Linked DNA regions of Homo sapiens: region 1 is linked to region 2. Evidence: promoter capture Hi-C in human tissues and cell types (Jung and others, 2019). All regions are on one chromosome and are shown on one strand. The core of a region is centred on a gene start or on the middle of the fragment in contact, and the rest is flanking DNA. Distances in the headings are between cores, read along the strand shown. Region 1 overlaps MYO15A (myosin XVA). Region 2 holds the start of EVPLL (envoplakin like).

The links. The method cuts DNA at HindIII sites, captures the fragments that hold promoters and counts their contacts. A contact is called where the count stands out against the background at its distance.
Region 1: a fragment that was not itself captured here is called in contact with the fragment with the promoter of EVPLL in region 2 in 2 of the 25 tissues and cell types used here (mesenchymal stem cells and neural progenitor cells).

What each region holds. Positions count from the first base shown.
Region 1 is chr17:18,176,336-18,181,002 of GRCh38, forward strand. It overlaps MYO15A (myosin XVA), which reads left to right. Exons shown (of 66, transcript NM_016239.4): 66 at 2,434-3,465. The coding sequence ends at 2,535. Among named protein-coding and RNA genes, the nearest start is that of ALKBH5, 5.2 kb to the right of the region's middle. The HindIII fragment of the contact is 6,024 bases long and covers 1-4,667 here.
Region 2 is chr17:18,376,049-18,381,051 of GRCh38, forward strand. It overlaps EVPLL (envoplakin like), which reads left to right and starts at 1,730. Exons shown (of 11, transcript NM_001145127.2): 1 at 1,730-1,935; 2 at 4,854-4,952. The coding sequence starts at 4,890. RefSeq lists an enhancer at 4,031-4,532. The HindIII fragment of the contact is 26,383 bases long and covers 1-5,003 here.

The DNA of each region.
Region 1 (4,667 bases), core at 1,605-4,104, 200 kb before region 2:
GCACATCACGTGGCAAGAGAGGGAACAAGAGAGAGAGGGCCCAAACAGCCGTCTCTCGTGTGAACTATTAGAGTGAGGACTCACTCATTACCTTGGGTAACCAAGCCATTCATGAGGGATTTGCCTCCATGACCCAACACCTCCCACCAGGCCCTGTCTCCAACATTGGGGATCACATTTCTTCTCTTTTCTTTTTTTTACTTTTCTTTTTTTTTTTTTTTTTTTTTTTACTACAGTGTCTTGCTCTGTTGCCTAGGCTGGAGTAATCTCGGCTCACTACAACCTCTGCTTCCCCAGTTCAAGTGATTCTTCTGCCTCAGCCTCCCAAATACCGGGATTACAGGCATGTGCCACCATGCCCGGCTATTTTTTTGTATTTTAGTAGAGACGGGGTTTCACCATGTTGGCCAGGCTGGTCTCAAACTCCTGGCCTCAAGTGATCCACCCGCCTTGGCCTCCCAAAGTGCCGGAATTACAGGCATGAGCCACCATGCCTGGCTGGGCATCACATTTCAACACAAGATTTAGAAGGGACAAATATCCAAACTGTATCATTCCCCCATCAGAATGTCAGCTCCAAGAGAGCAGGACCGTATCCATCTTGTTCATGCTGTGTCCATAACTCAGCGCCTGGCACATAGTAGATGCTCCATACATATTTGTTGGTTGCATGGGTGGGTGGGTGGATAGATGGATGGATGAAGGCCTCTTTGCTTTTCCCACTTCCTTGCAGCACCACCTGACCTCCTTATGCTGCCCTCTCTGCCTCTGGCCTGTATGTGTCAGGGGCTACATTCATTCACTCATTCAGTATAGATCCACTGAGCATCTCTGTGTAGCAAAGATACTGAAGTGACTGAGACCCCCTCAGCTCTGGCCCTCACAGAGCCTCAGGTCTCAGATATAAAATATACCTTGATCAGTGCTGGGAGGGTATACAGGGGACCTGAGCTATCTGGGAGGTAATCAGGGAGAGCTTCCAGGAGGAGGTGATGTCTAAGTGCAGCAGTGTTGCACTAACAGACCTGGGTCCCTATCCTGCCTACCTTTGACAGGCTGTGTGAGGGGATCTTGAGGTGTCCCTGATTCTCACTGAGCCTCAGGTTCCACACTGTCAAATGCAGCAACAATCCCAGCAAGGCCTAGAACATGGCAGCATGTAGGTAGGTAAAGGATTGGCTGGAGGAGAAGACTCCATTTGCACACGCTGATTTAATTAGTCGAGGTGGCCCCCAAGGCAGGGCCAGCACAGCTAACCTCAACAGAGAGCACTTCAGAGTGTGATCCTCAAGCCTCTTACCATCCAGGTTCAAATCCCACCACCTACCAGTTGTGCAGTCTGGAGCTTCAAGGCTCGGTGCCTGTTTCCCCACCTGTGGAATGGGATATAATAGCTCCTGTCTCTTAGAGACACTGTGGGGATTAAAACAGGTAGGACACATCAGGCCTTTAGGACAAGGCCTGGCACACAGTTAACACTCAGAGTGCGCCTCTAACATGATTTTATCCTTTCTCAGAGCAGCTTCCCTGGGGGGATTCCAACAATGGCTTTCGTCTGAGAACCACATTCACAGATTGATTTCCGCAATTCCCTGATGCCTTCCCCTACCCTGCTCCAATTGGGAGCACTAAGCCTGGGTCACTGCCCATTGTGCACTGTGGGAGCCAGGCGGTAACCATGGCAACAGACAGTTAGAAACTGTTACCATTTATTGATTGGATTCATATTTTTTAAATCTAAAGAATTTACACGTGGCCGGGCGCGGTGGCTCATGCCTGTAATCCCAGCACTTTGGGAGGCCGAGGTGGGCAGATCATGAGGTCAAGAGATGGAGACCATCCTAGCCAACATGGTGAAACCCCGTCTCTACTAAAAATACAAAAATTAGCTGGGCGTGGTGGTGCATGCCTGTAGTCTCAGCTACTCGGGAGGCTGAGGCAGGAGAATCGCTTAAACCTGGGAGGCGGAGGTTGCAGTGAGCCGAGATCGCGCCATTGCACTCCAGCCTGGCGACAGAGCGAAACTCCATCTAGGAAAAAAAAAAAAAGAATTTACATGCAATAAAGCCTCACTGAATCCTCACCACAGCCCTGTCTGTGAGGCAGGCCCCTGGTCAATTGAGACCTTACAGATGAGGCCACTGAGGCTCAGAGAGGTGAAGCGATAGACCCTGGGTCACACAGCTCACACGGAGCAAAGCCGGAAGAGGCACTTGGTCTCCTGCTTGCTTACCCCTTGCAGCCCACACCCCACCATTCGGCCTTCCAGCTCTTCATGCTCCTCTCAGGCCCTGGGGGAGGTGGGGACAAGGGTCCCTGCATGAATGATGGTCTCCACCTATCTCCCAACCACCTCTCCATTCTGTACTTCCCACCCCAAGGTAAGAGCTGGGGAAGTGTTGGATGGGCGTGGACTGTCACTGTCACCTGCAGGGACTGGAACTGTGTCGTGTGGTGGCCGTGCACGTGGAGAACCTGCTCAGTGCCCATGAGAAGCGGCTCACATTGCCCCCCAGCGAGATCACCCTGCTCTGACCCAGCCCCCAGCCCTCCAGTACCTTCTGCCAGAAGACTCACTGTGTGGCCTCAGAGAAATCACTGAACCTCTCAGGATCAATGACCCCTGTAAGGGGCCAGAGCCTTGGAGGACACTAAGAGGAGGCAGGAGGAGCAACTCAAATCCCCAAGAACACAAGAAGACCCATCCTGAACTGGGATGGAATGGCAGCATGCAAACTTGGATCAGATAGCAGGAGGAACTTTCAAAAGTCTGGCCCACTGTGCAGTGGAGCAGAAGGCAGGACCATGAGGCCTCCTGCCATGTACCCATTGCAGACCCTGCCCCTAACTCCTGCCTATGACACAGAAGCCCCACACCAGTTGCCCAGATGAACTGGCCTCTGCCTTTGGTTTACTCAGGGTCTGATGTTGGAATCTGCTCCAACTCCACACCCTAGCCCTTACATGTCCTCCTAAGGGGCCCCTCCTTGTGCTGCCAGTCAGCCTGGATTTCTGGTCTTTGGTTATTTCTGTGCAAACAAAAGGTGTGCCTGGCAGCCATTTCTCCATGGAGTTGCTAAGTGGCCGGAAAACAAGCCTGAGGGAGGAGGCAGGAGTTGGAGTTACCTTAGGCCCCTGATTCACTGCCTATGAACAGACCATCCCCCACTCCTTGGGTATCCCCAACCCCAGACCCCCATCACTTGATGGGCCACACAAGTTTGAGAGTGGTACAAGGGAGAAGTTTGGGAAAAGCCTTCTTGGAAAATGGGACATTAGCATTGAGTTTTGAAAGATGAGTAGGAGTTTGCTAAGAATAGATGGAAGACAGCAGGATAAACATTCCAGAGAAAATCATGTTTATTCCCTGCTGTATCTTCCAGAACCTAGGAGGATGCCTAACAGAGAGTAAGCACTTAAAAAATATTTGTCATATGAATGAAAAAATAAACGAGTGAATGTTGATAGAAAGTGCTGGTGCTTTGGGGAGCTTGTGCGGGGCAGAGAACACTTGGGGAGACTAGATAGGTAGATGGGGGCATAGCTGCAAGATCCATGGCAGCAGAGAAAGGATTTATCTACTTATTCAGCCATTCAATAGCTATTAAATACCTACTGTGAATGAGGCAAATACCAGGCACTGGCAGTTAATCACAGTCAAATCACCGCAAACTAGGATAAGACCTGTGAGTGGGAGTTAGCTAGGGAAAGAGGAAAGAGAACAACATACGCAGGGGCCCTGAGGTGCGCATTACTTGTAGCAGGATCTGAGACTGAAGAGGCCGGCAAAGATGGTTTCGATAGGGCTTCTGGGCTACATTAAGAATTTAGGATTTCTGGGCCAGGCGCAGTGGCTCATGACTGTAATCCCGGCACTTTGGGAGGCTGAGGCAGGCGGATTGCCTGAGCTCAGCAGTTCGAGACTAGCCTGGGCAACACGGTGAAACCCCGTTTCTACTAAAATAAGAATAATATACAGGGGCAGCCTGCCCCTGTAATCCCAGCTACTCAGGAAGCTGAGGCAGGAGAATGGCTTGAACCTGGGAGGCAGAGGTTGCAGTGAGCCAAGATCATGCCACTGCACTCCAGCCTGGGTGACAGAGTGAGACTCCATCTCCAAAAAAAAAAAAAAAAAAAAAAAAGAATTTAGGATTTCTGGGCCGGGCATGGTGACTAACACTTGTAATCTCAGCACTTTGGGAGGCTGAGGCCAGTGGATCACTTGAGCTCAGGAGTTTGAGAGCAGTCTGACCAACATGGTGAAACCTCTCCTCTACTAAAAATACAAAAATTAGCCGGACATGGTGGCATGCACCTGTAATCCCAGCTACTCAGGAGGCTGAGGCACAAGAGTCACTTGCACCCAGGAGGCGGGGGTTGCAGTGTGTCGAGATCGCGACACTGTACTCCAGCCTGGGCGACAGAGCGAGACTCGGTCTCAAAAAAAAAAAAAATTTAGAATTTCATCCCAAGAGCCATGAGCAGCCTTCAAAGGTTTTCCAGAGGGGGAAGGGGAGGCACAACCTGCACAGACTGTACTTTGTTAAAGCCATTCTGACCACTGAACGGTGAGTGAATGTAGGAGTTGGGGAGACCAGAGGGGGCTGCTGCAGTGTTAGCTGGAAAACTTGTCATAGATTCTAGTGGTGGTGATGGGTGGGGAGAAG
Region 2 (5,003 bases), core at 480-2,979:
ATAGTCATTCACACAAACGGCTCCTTTCTGAAGACAGTTGATTGCAGGCGTACAATGAGTGGTTAGAAGACAAGTGTCACCAGGAATAAAGTGGGAGCAGGCTGGGGCAGAGGCTGAGTGGCCAGTCATCTCTATTGGCATCTCACTCAAGACATGGGCCGGGAGCTGAGGACACTGGAGACCACTTTGTTTCCTCATTGCTGTCAGGGGCCTCTGCTGCCCTCCCCACCCCCACTGCCCCTGTCAGCTCCTCCACCTCTAGGAATGGGGGTTTACTGCATCCCCTCTCCATGGCCGAGTTCAGGAGCTTCCCATGAGATTCACCCAAAAAGGGCACAGGCCTTTTCTATCCCATGGGGGCCTGAGGCCAGTATCAGGTGTCGGTCCCTGGTCTCCCCCATCTGCTGGGACCTTTCTCTCCTGCCAGGCTGTTTTGTCCTCAGCGAGGCCTGCCAGGATGACCAGGTGATGTCACCCAGTCCGCCTGTTCCATCCCCTGGCTCCCCCTCAAGCCCTCCTTCCACTAAAACCACGGGGATTTCAGGAATGACCTGGAAAGCGACGCCACCTCTGCAGAAGGGGCCTGTTACGCTGGGCCAGTAAAATGAGCGCCTGGAAAGGGGGGTCCCATCGCCCCTTTCTTGAAGACGCTGAGGGTCACCACAGAAGGAAAAGGCAGCAGCCCTGGTCCCCAGTGTGAGGAAAAGACCAATAAGCTGGCATCACTCTCTGCCACTCAATCTGACTTCATAAAAGCCACCAGGGGCCATTTCTGGGTGGGGGAAGAGGCAGGTAGGAAAAGCCAAGTGCATCGGGCTCCCGGGCCTCAGCCAGAGCCCAGGCTTAGTGGCACCTGAAGCCAGCCCTGGTGCTGCTGCACTGTGCACACTTTATAAAATGGGGCCGGGCATGGTGGCTCATGCCTGTAATCCCAGCACTTTGGGAGGCCAAGGCGGGTGGATCACTTGAGGTCAGGAGTTCCAGACCAGCCTGGCCAACATGGTGAATCCCCTTCTCTGCTAAAAATACAAAAATTTTCTGGGCGTGGTGACGGACACCTGTAATCCCAGCTACTTGGGAGGCTGAGGCAGGAGAATCGCTTGAACCCGGCAGGCAGAGGTTGCAGTGAGCCGAGATCGTGCCTTTGCACTCCAGCCTGGGTGACAGAGCAAGACTTTGTCTCTTAAAAAAAAAAAAAATGGACCTTGTGCCAGTTGTCTGGAGTGAACGTCCCCTGGCTGCCCCATCATGTCAGTGGAGAACACAGAGCCAGGCCCTGGGCTGGCAGGACACCCCCTCCTCTCCTGGGGGATTGAGAGCTGTGGGTGGGGGCCAGCCTGGCAGCAGGGCCTCTGAGCTGGCTGGAGATGTTTATTAATCCTGAGCTCCAGAGCTGGGGCCTCTCCGCTGAGCCTGCGCCTGCATGTGCACGTCTGTCTCCAGACCCATCTGTCCTGGCCCAGCTCCTTCCCTATCTGGGTGTAATCGCCACCGCGCTCCCCTGGGCATGTGGGTGTAACAAGTCCAAACCTTCTGTGGGAGTCGGGCAGGCTCGGCCCCACCCTCAAGGCTGTGCCCTTTCCTCCCAGACTGGTTATGCAAGAGCAGGCATGAGTGTGGTTTTTGTGGGTGCATGCGCGGCAGGCCTGGGGCCTGGCCGCCTGCTGCCTCACCTGCAAGGAGGGGCCTCCCAGAAACTCCCTTCCCCAATGCCCAGCCGCCCCACCTTGCCAGACTTAGCTGACCAGCCAGCAAGGACGCCCGCTGCCTCCCACCTGCCCTCCTGCCCTCCTTCACCAGCCAAGCCCAGCCTGAGCCAGCACCTGCCTTTATGACCATGTTCAAGGGACTGAGCAAAGGCTCCCAGGGGAAGGGGTCCCCCAAGGACTCCCCAGCCAAGGGGTCCCCCAAAGGCTCCCCCAGCAAGCACAGCTGGTGAGTGGGACTAGGGGATGGGGAGCCAGGGAGCTAGGGTGGGGGTGGTGCCAGGCCCAGGTCCTTGAGCCACCTGGCGGCGGCCCAGAGCCCAGGACCAGCCCCGTGCTGGCATTTGGTGTCCCGAGGACAAAGGGCCCAGGGGTGGACTCTCTCCCTGCCTTGGGAGCCGCAGGCCCAGGCCGAACTTCAGCCCTGGCAGGAGGCAGGGGATGGCCTGGGGCTCCCTACATCCTCTAAGGGGGCCTGTGGGCCACAGATTGATGCTGCTCAGCGGGAGAAGTGCCGGACAGGAGCCTGCACTGATGCCCTCCTCTGCCAGAGGCTGGGACACAGGAGAGCCTGGTTGTGTGACTGCAGCTCTGCCCCAAGGCTCTACTTGGCTGGGATGACCCCTGGAGCCTGGGTGCAGGGCATGAGGACTGAGGGGGTGGGGTGGGATCCCTGGGGTAGGGATGCAGGGGCTGTGCTGCCTCCTGCCTAAGCCAGAGCCCTCCCCAGAGCTCTCACCCAGGGCCTTGTTGTATTGAAGAGTTAGGGGTTCATGGCTGGGCGCGGTAGCTCACGCCTATAATCCCTGACTTTAGGAGGCCAATGCGGGAGGATTCCTTGAGCCCAGGAGTTTGAGACCAGCCTGGGCAACATAGGGAGATCTTGTTTCTATAAAAAAAATAAAAATAAAAAACAGCCAGGTATGGTGGCTCATGCCTATTGCTTGAGCCCAGGAGTTTGAGGCTTCAGTGAGCCATGATCACACCACTGCGCTCCTGCCTGGGTGACAGACTGTGACTCTGTCTTTAAAAAAAAAAAAAATCCTGGTGCAATACCTCATGCCTGCAATCCTACCACTTTGGGAGGCTGAGGCGGGTGGATGACTTGAGCCCAGGAGTTGGAGACCAGCCTGGGCAACATGACGAAATCCCATCTCTATAAAAAATATACAAAAATTATCTGGATGTAGTGGTGCATGCCTGTAGTCAGAGCTACTTGGGAGGCTGAGGTGAGAGGATCACTTGAGCCCGGGAAGTCGAGGCTGCAGTGAGCCGTGATCACTCAACTGCACTCTAGCCTGGGTGACAGAGCAAGACCCTGTCTGTTAAAACAAAACAGAATAGAGCTGGGGCTTCCTTTTCCAGTGGGTGTGGTGCAGGGGGCACTGGGCCTCCCTTGGACCACCCGGTTCTCTGGGGCCCAGCCTCAGCTCTCTGTGGATGGATTGGGTGGCGCTCTTCCCACTCACTGGCTTCAGCTCATCTGCAGAGGAGGCAGCAGCCCGCCTGGGTCCAGGGTGTCGAGATAAGCTCAGGGATGAAAAGCTGGTGTGGGAGTGGGGGTGCCCATTACCCCGATAGGGATCAAGGCACCAACAGACACCGAGTCTGGGCGTCTGGGCCGACGGGAAAGACAGTGGTTAAGACTCTCAGCTAACACTCTCACTGAGTGACCTGTCCTCCCTGGGGCACCTGAGCCCCACCCAGGGTGGAGTGTGCAGCTCCTGGTGGGAGCAGCCATCCCAGGAGGCGGGACCTGAGCAGGAGTGCCCAGGGCCCAGCACCTGCAGCTCCCACTGTCCAGGCAGGCTCCCCAGCAGTGTGCTCCTGGCCTGGGGCAGCTCAGTCCTCAGGGCCCTGTTGGCTCTGGATCACCTCACGTGCGATCCACTCGTTTGACATGAACTTACTGAGCACTTACTGCATGCCAGGACTGTTCTAGGCACTGGAGATGTCGCTGTAGACAGAACCAACAGGCCCCTGCCTTCAAGGCACTAGCCCTCTAGTGGGATAAAAACTAACACGTGCTGGGTGCCGACTCTGCACCAGGCCTGCACTGGATGTTTCAGACAGATAAATTCAATTAATGCTCACAATAGCCCTAAGGCATAGATATTTTTATTAAAATCCTGCTTTACGAGTGAGGAACCTCAGGCACAGAGAGGTTGAGTAACTTGCCCAAGGTCACACAGCATTAATGATGGAGAAAGATGAAACCAGGCTGTCTTGGCCACAGAGTTCTTCCAGACTGCTGTGCCTTCACCAGCACTGTCCCGTTGCCTGGGGGGGCCCATCCTTTGACCCAGTTCAAGGCTTCCCCTGCCCCAGGATAATGATCCCCCATAAGGCACTGTGCTCATAAGGCTTGGACCAATCTGCCCTCTTTTAGGTCTGCTTGGCCTTGTGACCTCCACAGAGTGACTGCATGCACACAGCAGGTGCTCTATGGAGGCTGCAGGGCGAATGCACAGAAAAAGCCCTGGGGTGGAAGCAAGGTTTCCCCTCCGTCCCTGACCACGTAACTCAGAGCAAGTTAGGGCACAATCTGGGCTTTGAACCCTCAACTCTGGAGAATGTTAGGGTGCCCAGCAGTCTCTTGCGCCTGCCCCCGCTCCCCGACTCTGACAGTGTGAGGCTCCTCTAGACGGCTGCTGAAGCCAGCACTCTGGCAAAGCTCCCTGGGGTGGAGGAGGTATAGGGGAACACAGGGCTGGAGTGGGAGGAGGTGGGGGTGGGGGGCATGCTGCTGCCTCCCTGCCCCAGCCAGCCCAACTGCCCCTCCCAGGGCCCAGCCAGGCTGGCTCAGGTACTACCGGCTCACAGGGGGGAAGTGGCAGGCAGCTGGGTGGGGTCGGGAACTCACTGCCAGCACAGCTGGCTGAGGCTGGGACACCGAGGCCGCCTGACACCCAGCACCACACAGACCTGAGACCCTCACCTTTTGACCCCTCATGTGGCGGGGCAGTGCTAACACCCCCAACCAGGTCTAGCTCACAGAGCCTCCTGCAGAGAGAGACCCCAAAGTCAGGGCAGTGTGCTAGGCTGTGGGGGCGGGATGGGGTGGAGAGAGGGCAGGGGACGCCACCTGGATGGGGCACAGAGGGGCCTCTTCCACCGAGCTGCCCACTGTCCCCTCCACCCACCAAGAATGCCACCCAGGAGCTGACCCTGCTCATCTCCCACATGCAAGCCAGCGCCGACCAGGTGGAGCGGGACATCCTGGAGACGCAGAAGAGGCTGCAGCAGGTGAGAACCCGGCAGCAGTTGGCAGGGTGTGGGCAGGCTGGGTGGCATGGG